Linked DNA regions of Homo sapiens: region 2 is linked to region 1. Evidence: promoter capture Hi-C in 16 types of primary human blood cells and fetal thymus (Javierre and others, 2016). All regions are on one chromosome and are shown on one strand. Each heading gives the region's core, a stretch centred on a gene start or on the middle of the fragment in contact. The rest is flanking DNA. Distances are from core to core; before and after follow the strand shown.

Region 1 (5,390 bases), core at 1-2,500:
TTATGTTTTTAAGATGCAATGGCAAAATAAAAAGAAAGCATTCCATTGCATTCTGTTGCTTCATTACAGATGCGCTGAACAGTTGCTTATAAAAATCGTGCATTGGGTTCAACCTTTCAGATGAATAAAGGCTTTGTTCTGTCTTGGTCTCATCATGTAATCATCATACTTTTTTTTTCTCAAAATGTGGTATTTAGGGGAGGAAAATGTATGCTTGTTGTGTTTGCTCAATGCCATATGTTTTTGAGTTTTTGTTTTCAAGGCATACAGAAATGCTGTAGACTGGGAAATAAATAAATAAATAAATAAATAAATAACCCTTCCTAAACTTTCTCTTCTTCTGCTTTATCTCAGGAAACTCCAGCACCTCCTAGAACATCTTTTGTGGAATGGCACCTCATGGGGGCCCTTGGATCATGTACCCCTTGTATTCAACAGTAAACATCTTCCTATAATCATTGCTTCATTAACGATAATGTGAGCCAATGCACAGTATTTATCAAATGGCATCTAAGATGGTTAAAGCACACCTAATCCTCTCGTGGGTGCCTGCCAAGAGTAGAAAAGGGTAGTGTATAGATATCAATTTTATTGTCCAGCATTCCCTAATCGAAGTCCCAAGTGGTCTGAAAACTTAGACGAAAGATAAATGGGCCGCAGTAATTAACCACTGCAATAACAGATGTTATACAGGAAACCTGTGTGTGCCAGAGCTATAAGCATGTTTTGATTTTGAATACGCACTTGGGCTAGCACATTCTTCCTCAATAATGGAAATATGTAAATGTTTTGTAAGGTATTAACTGCCATGGCAGACGTTGAATTATTTTTCCTTTAAAAAACATATACATATGCTTTGTCAGATAGTCCAAGGACTTCAGTTTCATGTACAACCTGGATTTCTTTGGAATCTGCGGAGTTTCACATTTTCCCAAGTGTTCACGGTGAAGCTCCTGGCTTCGAGCTGGCTGTCTTCAAGGGTGTTTTCTTGAGCTACCCCTCTCTCTGCTCTGCCAATTATGTGCCACTTTGTCTTGGTGCTATGATTGCTTTCTTCTGAGAGGGAAATTCCTCTTTCATCAGTATGGATGCACTGTTTTTACACACTGCAAGTGCTGTGTTACTGTGTCAGTCATCCTATTAGGGCCAGTTTCAGACGAGTAGGGCTGACGAGCTGGCTGGGGATTGGCTGGCCCCGGCTGGGAGGGATTTGTCGGAAGGAAGGGCTGCAGCTTACAGCAACAGAGTTTAGACTGTCTTTGCTTCATCATCTGAAGGTAAAATTTTCCAGATACGGCAGACGGCTTTCAGAGTACAATAAACAGGGAATGAGAACTATTTACATGGAAGTTTCTTTCTCATGATGCGGTGGAGAAGCCTCGGCCACTTGGTTCTGCCAGATGTTCCTGGGGTTACTGTAAATGGGAAGGACAGGCAGAGCTAAACAAGGTAGGAGAATCGCCCCCCTTTTTTGAATGTTTAAAGAGTTTGCTGCAGTATGCTGCATTCCATGTGTGCTGCTTACGGGAGCCAGGGAAACTGGATTCCACTAATTCAATTGTAATACTTGCGGGGGACCCTGGAGTTTTACGTAACATTTTGATTTGAGAAAAAGAAATGGCAAAGCTTGAATCTATGCCGCCTGTTTGGGGTGAGGCAAGAAATCGAGTTTTTATGCAAAGAATCGATTCATTTATTATATTATTTTTTAAAAACCATTTGAATTCTTTGGAGCAATCTTATTTTCTTGCTGTGAAAAATTGTTATATTGCCATAGCTAGTTCCCAAATAGATAAAGTTTACATGGATCCTATTATTTGAAAACAGACTTGCAATTAAGGATTAAAAAAAAATTCATGGTAAATAATCATCGGTTGAATGTTTGGCCAAACGTATGTGTCTATTTATTAAAAATTAGGGACCTACCTAGCTCTACAATGCTACAGCTTTAATTGAGTTTCAAAAGCACATTTTAAACAACCTAGCAAGAGGTAGCTTTCTGGCAAGTTTTCGATACTGTAGTTCAATGTTTACATTTCTTTTCCTGGCATGTCTGAGCCTTTGTTTCCAGCTTAAAAGTGGAACCATTATATTCAAAAGTAAAGCTGGGTTAATAATGCTTACTGCAATTATCTGATCTTTATGCATTTTTAATGAGAACACACAGCCAGCAGAATAATTTAATGAGGGCAGGCTAGCTTTTAAAGCTGTGTTTTCACTATGCCGAACCATATCAACTTTCTCGCTGAGAAGCAGCAGTGAGAAATGATGGAGAAGATTTATTTTTAACACACTTGGCCCAGGAGAAGGAAAGGATATATTTGCTAAAGAATTCTTTCTGCCCTTTTCCGTTTTAAATTTCTGCCAGGCATGAGGAAACTGTGCTTTTTTGTTAGGCCTCGGAAGCATGTGTTTACAATAAATGTGTAACATTTTTAGAATAGTTAGCAAGCACTGAAGCGAAGAAAAAAATCTGACTTGCCTAACCACCACCACCTTGAATGTTCTACAAGAAACATTACTGTCCCTTTAAAAGACAAAGGTTAAGTGGAAAGCTATTTGTTAATTGGGTAATGTGTGTGTTTTGGGGACAATAAGGTTTTTAAAAAAGGCAGGGGGAACATTCTTATAATCTTTAAATAAGAGGAAGTTTCTTCAGCTATCCTACTTGTTTTGCAAGGAGCAGTAGAACTACTCATTTAAATAAGGGCAATGCCACGTAGATTCTTCTAGACCCACTGTTTTTACTTTCAAGGAGAAGTGCAGGACACTAGCCCAGAACTTCTGACGTCATCCCCCAACTATTTCTGCTGTGTGTTCCTTTATTCGAGCTTGTGGAGAGGAATATTTCTTTATGTCCTGGCCAGGAACATTCTAACTCCCCACTGGCAGGACTTAAGTTATGTCTTTATATTTTCGCCTGTCTTTTGTAAATTGTAAACCTGTCCCCTCATAAATAGGGCATCTTCTTGTACCTGCCACATGTCGGGCCGGTCAGCACAGGTTTTCTGCAGGGCTTCTGGCTGGGCTGGCAAAAAGCAGCAGGGAGCAGGGCAAAGCTTTTTTTCTGGCCTGACTCCCCCTTGGTGCAGCCCAGCGCTGCCACCTGGGTGGATGGTCCCCGGGGCCCTATTCCCAGTTGCTCCAGAGCCACTATTTAGGATCCAGGTTGTGCCACCAAGTTCAAGGCTGGTTGTGATGGTGAGAACAGCTGCTTTCATAGAAAAATCATCATGTCCTAGCACAGATGGCCCCAAGCAGGGGAAGTACAATACTGCAGGCTGCAAATCCATGTCACAGGTGGCAACCTTGGTCACAGAGATCGGGGGAAGGGTAATGTTTACAAAGGAACCTTTTAAAAAAGATTTTGACTGGAGCACATTGGAGTTCTCGGGAGTTCCCAAAGCTAATTTGTGTCTCCTCTCTGACTACTCACGTAGTTTTGAGCAAGTGCCTACCTTGATTTTTCTGTCTTTTAATAGAATTGAATCATACTTGCTACACTTTCCCTCATCATTTAGCATTTTGAGACCTTGACCTTTTACCAAAAAAAAAAAAAAAAAAAAAAAAGTTGTTTGTCTCTTGGCACATTGAGCTATTTAAAGTACAAAGGGATAAAACCTCGGTATTAAGAAACTGTTGGCAAACACCTTAGAGTATTAAGATACATAGTCATATACACAAAACCCTTCACTCTACTTTGTGCTCATGTAAATTTTTTAGGGATACTTTTTCTTAGTTCAACAAATGAAATTTCCAAGGAAATCAAAGCGTTGTTGTTTGCATTTTTTCCATCGATCTAATCTAATATACTAGAAGCTCTGCAAAGCACACTATTCTGGCCACAGGCCTTGTAGTGCCCAAAACATTTAATGCTGTTTTTCCTTTGACTTTTGTGTTAAATTTGTGAAAGTGGAGTAAATAAGAGAAAAAACAAGAGGGAAGGAGAAAAATATGCTTGTGAAATATACTGGTTAGGTAGCTTTACTGGTTAACAGCCTGCCTTCTCTCTGCTAGTTGTTTCAATTTGCTGTTGCTATGGTGAAAACAAATCAATATCACATGGCTACCAGCCAGTCCCGCGCTCAGGGAGTGCCATAGAAATTCAAGATCAGGTACTCAAGATTCCAAGCAAGAATTGGGAAAAGAGGATTTAGATGCTGAGCTTAAGAGAATTCCTTATAGTAGAATAAGTAGGTTCAATCTCTCATGCATTTTCTCTTCCTTTTTTCCTGTACTTTCCTACCGATAACAAGAAAAAGATGAAAAGGAAGGTATACTGATTTGTTTACATTTCCAAAATGACAAAACAGATTATCAACATAGAAATAGGTTGGCAACATTGCAAGGGGTGAAGGATTCTGATTCGGGAAAAGGTGGATAACTACAAGACATGTTGGTTGTTGAAAACATAGTTTTGGGGGCCTTTACCATCTTCAGGTACAGCTACATGTCAGAGCTGGCTGGGTTGTGCCAAGCAGAGAAACCTGGCAACTCTAGGGGGCAGGTGGGCAGTGGAGATAAAGGGGGTTATAAAAAGGTAGGGAGGTGTGGGCATAAAAATCAACAAGCAAGAAAGCCCAGAGAGAGCTGCAGGTCAAGAGTCAGGCCAGGCAAGCACAGATCCCTGGGGCATGGCAGAACAGGAGAGGACAGTTCGCCCTGTTCACGAAATCTGCTCAAGACCCAAGCTAAAGGCCTAGCAAAGAAAGGCAGGAAATAGCTGCAAAGAGAAGTAAAGGTGTCATGGGCCCAGGCATCCTTTCCGGAAGGGTCGACTCAACTGGATGAGCATGGATGTCCACTGCTGGGGAGAGCAAAGAGCTTGATATTTTAATGCTTTGGTTTCTCTCAGAAGAATGAGGCAGGAAGACTTAACCGGGCTTTGTAAATTAGTTAACATACTATTTTTTTTTCTCCAGTTTTATACTCTTCTCAGTTTTTTTTTTCTTTTAAAAAATGTGCACAAACTATTTGTTGCAGCCGTGATAATATTCGTAGTAAAGAGCCAAAGGTGCTGCGTGGCTGGGTCTGCATCAGGCCTGGGCCTCCGACTGCACGGCTCCAACTACACAGTTGTTTATGGAGACCAGTCCCGGCCTCCTCTGCTGAGAGTAAAAACAGGTGTGAAAGGTAAGGCCTAAGGGTTTCTTTTGTAAACCTGAGCTCTGAGGCTGATGGACGAGTTTTGGGCTGGCCTGCCCTCCTCAATACAGCAGAAACGCTTGGTAATAAAAGTGGACTCAATAATTTACCTTAGTGTTTTGACAAAGAATGCATTGTCTGAATTATACTAGGTAGTATATTCCATCAATCAGTCAACAAGTGTTTATTAAACACCTCTGGGCTTCCCTGGCTTTTGCTATTTGGTGAGAAACCCAACTCAGTAA
Region 2 (5,278 bases), core at 828-3,327, 2.3 Mb after region 1:
GGCGTGCCGCGGACAGTGTGACAAAGAAACTGTATGATGGATATGAGAACTTCGTAAGACCCAGCAGCAAACGGGGAGCGGCTGGCGAGCGCTCCACAGCCCCCAAGCGTGGGAGCTCTAGATCGGAATTTGTAATTTGGAATTGGAACGTGAGCGCCGGAACAGCTCTCCCAGCAACCACCTCTCCCAGCAACCACCTCAGCTGGCGCGCGGAAAACCCGGAAAGTGGATTTCGCCCCCGCTCCCTCCCGGAAACTCCTCCTGGTGCCTGCGACCGTTCTCACTGAGCATGTGCAGACGGCGGTGCGCATGCTCTGTTGCGGTCCGCTTCGGTTTCTGTTGCGGGACCCGGGGTGTCTCCTAGCGCAACCGGAACTAGCCTTCTGGGGGCCGGCTTCCTTTATCTCTGGCGGCCTTGTAGTCGTCTCCGAGACTCCCCACCCCTCCTTCCCTCTTGACCCCCTAGGTTTGATTGCCCTTTCCCCGAAACAACTATCATGAGCGCGAGGCTGCCGGTGTTGTCTCCACCTCGGTGGCCGCGGCTGTTGCTGCTGTCGCTGCTCCTGCTGGGGGCGGTTCCTGGCCCGCGCCGGAGCGGCGCTTTCTACCTGCCCGGCCTGGCGCCCGTCAACTTCTGCGACGAAGAAAAAAAGAGCGACGAGTGCAAGGTGGGTGAGGCCTGACGAGCCCTCTGATGCACTGTTGGAAGGGGAAGTCGTCCCTATCCGGGGGAGCTGATCCTCGGGTGGGAGCGAGGGAAGGGGGCGTAGCAGCGGGTGGGGTTGAGTTTCCCCAGAAGCTTTTGGGGTCTGCTGGGCTGTGGGTGGGGGGCTCTGAAACAGCCCTTGCAAGGGTAGTTTCTGGAGGACGCAGTGGGCCTCAGACTCGCCTCCCGTCTTGCGGGCCAAGTGGCACGAGCAGCTGTATTCAGTTTTCCTGGAACAGGGACCGTGTGGAGCGCCCTTGGAGTTGGGCTTCACGCCTCAGAGCTTTGGAGTTGGATGTATGCAGGTCCACGCGTGAGTGTTCGCTCACAGCCCTGTAACATGTACGCTGAGGAAGCGGGTGACCGACTCCCTACATGTGAGCAACACTCAGCCTAGTTAACAGTTTCCATTAGCTTTTAACTTCATTGCTTCCTGTTTAATTGCATTTTCCTGGAACCTTCTAGTTGGTTAGGAGAGCTTGTTCTTTCTAGGACTTTGATATCTCGCTTCACAATTAGAAGTTGGTTCCTTATTTGTGGAGTATAACACCCAGAGCCACACAAAGTGCATTAATAAAGAGTTGCTGTAATGGTTGAGGCACTTGATTTCTGAGTTTTAAGTGTAAAAGATTTTAATACACAAAAAAAGATACGAGGTCTCACTATTTTCTCTGAGATGGTTTTAAACACTTAAAAGGGGCAAATGGTGGGAGAAACTGGTGTTTTCCTAGGGCAAGTCTTGAAAACTTTGATCTCTTACAACATTCACACTCAAGGTTTTCAGTTTAATTGCTAGTAAAAGAGGCGTAAATAAAGTAACCTGCTTTTAGGTTATATGGTGTAGGGCTTTACAGTATACATACACAATTATTTCGTTAAGTTTATTTAAAACTTAACATTTGGGGGATGAGGATCTCTTTGAAACCTTTAATGATTTCAACAATTCAAATAATCGTTCAACAAACGTTTACAATCTATAAATAGGCTTATTTATTAAGTTTGATTTTTTTAAGCTGGTGTTTATTACAGTTAGCTTTACTATAGCTGTGAATTTTGAGGTTATTTTAGGGCATTAGATAAGCTTTAAATTTTTCATAACATTTTGCAGTTTCTTTTTAGGTTGTCAGCTATCTTGAATGACATGTTTATACATCTGTGCAAAACCTTGTATCTGAAAAAATATCTAAGGATATTTAAGGTTTACTCAAGTCTGCAGTTAGTGTTTCAGTACTTAAGTTCATACTCTGCAGTGCAAGAAGCTTTCACTCCTTTTTGAGGATTCTGACTGAAAGACTGTTGTTGTGCTTCCAAGTGGAAGATCTAGACTTGCAAGTACACTGGTTTTTCCATTAAATATTTTAGTAACCAACCTTTAAGGCCTAGTGTTTGGTCTTACTTTAACAGCAGTTGTATATTCTATTCCTAGTGCCTCAAAGATGAAAAATATATTTCCTGCCCTCTGGGAACCTCAAAGTAAGGGACATAAGCTTATGAACAGATTATTGAAATCTGATCTGTTACACAGGATGATGTCCAAAGTGTGCTAAAACAAAATGAGGAAACATCAGTGGACTAGAGTCTTTAGGGAAAGCTCTATAGAAGAAGTGACAGGGCCAGGTGTGGTGGCTCACGCCTGTAATCCCAACACATTGGGAGGCCGAGGCGGGTGGATCACCTGAAGTCAGGAGTTTAAGACCAGCCTGGCCAATATGGTGAAACCGCGTCTCTACTAAAAATACAAAAATTAGCTGGGCGTGGTGGCGGGCATCTGTAATCCCAGCTACTCGGGAGGCTGAGGCAGGAAGAATCGCTTGAACTCTGGAGGTGGAGGTTGCAGTGAGCTGAGATCGCGCCATTGCACTCCAGCCTGGGCAACAGAGCGAGACTTTGTCTCAAAAAAAAAAAAAAAAAAAAAAAGAAGAAGAAGTGACATTTGAGATGGACTTAGAAAATGAATAAGTGAAACTTATAGGTGGTCTTCCAGTTAGATGATTGTTTTCTCAACAGGTCCTTTGGTAAGTGGCTAGGTTGTATTCTAGTTATTTTTTAGTTAATCTTGGGAGTCATTTTGGATGTTTAATTTTCATAGGTATAGGGATAAAACAGGCAGAGCAGATCATTTTTCCGAAATGTTTGGATTTTTATCTTTATTGCCAGCTACACTCACATCTGGTTAATGGAAACAACTCTTAGAAGAGCAGGAGGGTGTACTTTCAGCTTTTTTCCTGCGATATGACTAACTGGTGTAGAGAATTTGAAATACACTTTAATATTTATTTTCTTTGCCTTTCAAAGAAGATGCTATAAATAACAGTAAACAGTTGAAATTTGTATTACTTCAATCAGGATGTTAATAATTTATTCTCATCTATTTCGTATTTGTTAAGGAGGACAGTCTTGTACACATTATTCAGAAAAGTGGAAGGAACTTCTTTTAAAAATTAGAAATGAGAGTTGTGAAATGGAAATAATTTTTTCCAAAAGATGCTGTTAAGTTAGTGAATCTGAAGTTGGAGAAATTGGGCAGGTCATTGATACTGTTACCAACAGTTTTTCCATCTGTAAAATAGGGATAATCATATTTGATTATGACATATTCCCCTTGAAAGGTATTTTGCATTTCTTAGAGGAAAAGTGCAATATTTGTCATTGTTGTGATAGTGTAGAGATGAAACAAATATATCTTCAACTTATATATAATTTAGGTAGTAGAGTGTTTTTATGTACTGTAAAGTTTGTCTCATGCATTTAGCTCAGGATGTAAATTGAGAGAGAATCAGAAGAATGCTGAGGATTTAGTAATTTTCTCTCTTTAAAAATTATCTTATGTTGAATTTACTGGCAGAGAAACAGGAGTCCAGTGAATATAAAATTCTATTTATATTGCTGTAACTTCTGATTAATTTTCTTAGCCTTCATAGATACTGTGAGTATGTTTTCATGGCCTCCTTTTTTTAACTTATTTTACATGTGCGTGCATTTGGATATTGAGGAGGTGCACATTCTTATTGCTTTTTATAGCCGATACTATTTCATTCTGTTCCTGTACAATCTGTGGTTTGCCTGACCATTCTTACTTGTAGGGCCTTTAGATTGGGCCCAATTTTTCTCTATTATGAATAGCTTTGCTACAGTGTATTTAGCAGTAATTATTTGCATATCCCCAAATATAAAATTCTAGGTAAAGACAAGAAGAAGTTTTTAGTTCTGTTTAGTATTGCCAGATTTCTTTCAACAATGATAGGTTTGATTTCCTTTAACTAAATAATACCTTGTGTTGCCACATCATTTTAATTTTTATTTATCAATTTAATAGTGATGTGATGGTCCCTAAGACTTTTTTTTTTTTTTTTTGAGACGGAGTTTTGCTCTTATCACCCAGGCCGGAGTGCAGTGGCACGATCTTGGCTCACTGTAACCTCCACCTCCTGAGTTTAAGCAATTATCCTGCCTCAGCCCCCTGAGTAGCTGGGATTACAGGCGCCTGCCACCATGCCCGGCTAATTTTTGTATTTTTAGTAGAGATGGGGTTTCACCACGTTGGCCAGGCTTGTCTCGAACTCCTGAGCTCTCAGGTGATTCACCCACTTCAGCCTCCCAAAGTGTTGGGATTGTAGGCGTGAGCCACCACGCCCAGCCTGTACACTTTTTAAATGTTTTACTTTCATTGCTATTGAAATTTCTGTGTCTTTTAATATTTTTCTTTTATTTGCCTTATTTTGTTACGTTTTGAAACCATAGTAATAAAAGATTGAGCTATGGTATTCCTTTCCTGTAGAATTCACTTTACTTTCTTAAAATCAAGGGACACTGTGTGACTGAAATAAGTAGAATAAAGCCCTGATTATAAGTGACTAGATATTCCAGGATAAAATCCACAGTTCTAATTTAGTTTGTAAAAGTTTTGACTATTTCAGTTAGCTTTGTGCTTTTTAGCTTTAAATCAAATCTTAGTGTGCCGAGTGGCATTCTGATGGCTAAGAGGTGAAGATTAGTGAGCAGTTCACCTTTGCTGCTTTCAACTTTCAAGTAATTACTGGGTTGTCAACCAGAATTCAGAACTAAGAACTAAAAATAGTATTAATTCTCCAAAATGTCTGCCACTTTTTTACTGTTTGATGGATAGATCACGTTCTTAGATGAAAGATTAAGATTTTTTTTCCTTTGCTGTAAGGAAAAATGACCAATTATACCCCCTAGTGGTTAAAAACAATGTTTAAATGAATTAGTTTAACAACTTTTTAATAAAAAGGAAAATTACTCAGTCATACTTTCCTTTCTTGGTAGTTATTTTTAGAAGCATTTTATAAGTTGTGTTTGTTATTCTGGGAGCAGTTGTGTATAAATATTGGAATGAGTCAGCTTTAAGAAAATAGTCCTGAATGTTGATCTGAACGGACACAGAATGAATATATATGTACCTGTTTTAATTTGACCATAGAAGTAGTTTGAAGATTTTGAAATACTTAAAGAAAAAAAATCTGTATGTGTATTTATTGGTATAGTGATAAATATTTATCGATATGTAGTTTCACATTCTCACAGTTCTCTCTGGAATAAGAGCATTGATTC

The links. The method cuts DNA at HindIII sites, captures the fragments that hold promoters and counts their contacts. A CHiCAGO score of 5 or more calls a contact.
Region 2: a fragment that was not itself captured here is called in contact with the fragment with the promoter of MBNL2 in region 1 in 1 of 17 cell types (fetal thymus); the score reaches 5.0 in fetal thymus.

Annotation. Positions count from the first base shown.
Region 1 is chr13:97,221,083-97,226,472 of GRCh38, forward strand. It overlaps MBNL2 (muscleblind like splicing regulator 2), which reads left to right and starts at 1,251. Exons shown (of 9, transcript NM_001382683.1): 1 at 1,251-1,449. RefSeq lists an enhancer at 1,273-1,332. The HindIII fragment of the contact is 4,024 bases long and covers 1-1,624 here.
Region 2 is chr13:99,501,110-99,506,387 of GRCh38, forward strand. TM9SF2 (transmembrane 9 superfamily member 2) reads left to right here and starts at 363. Exons shown (of 17, transcript NM_004800.3): 1 at 363-668. The coding sequence starts at 498. RefSeq lists enhancers at 69-248, 155-743. The HindIII fragment of the contact is 228 bases long and covers 1,964-2,191 here.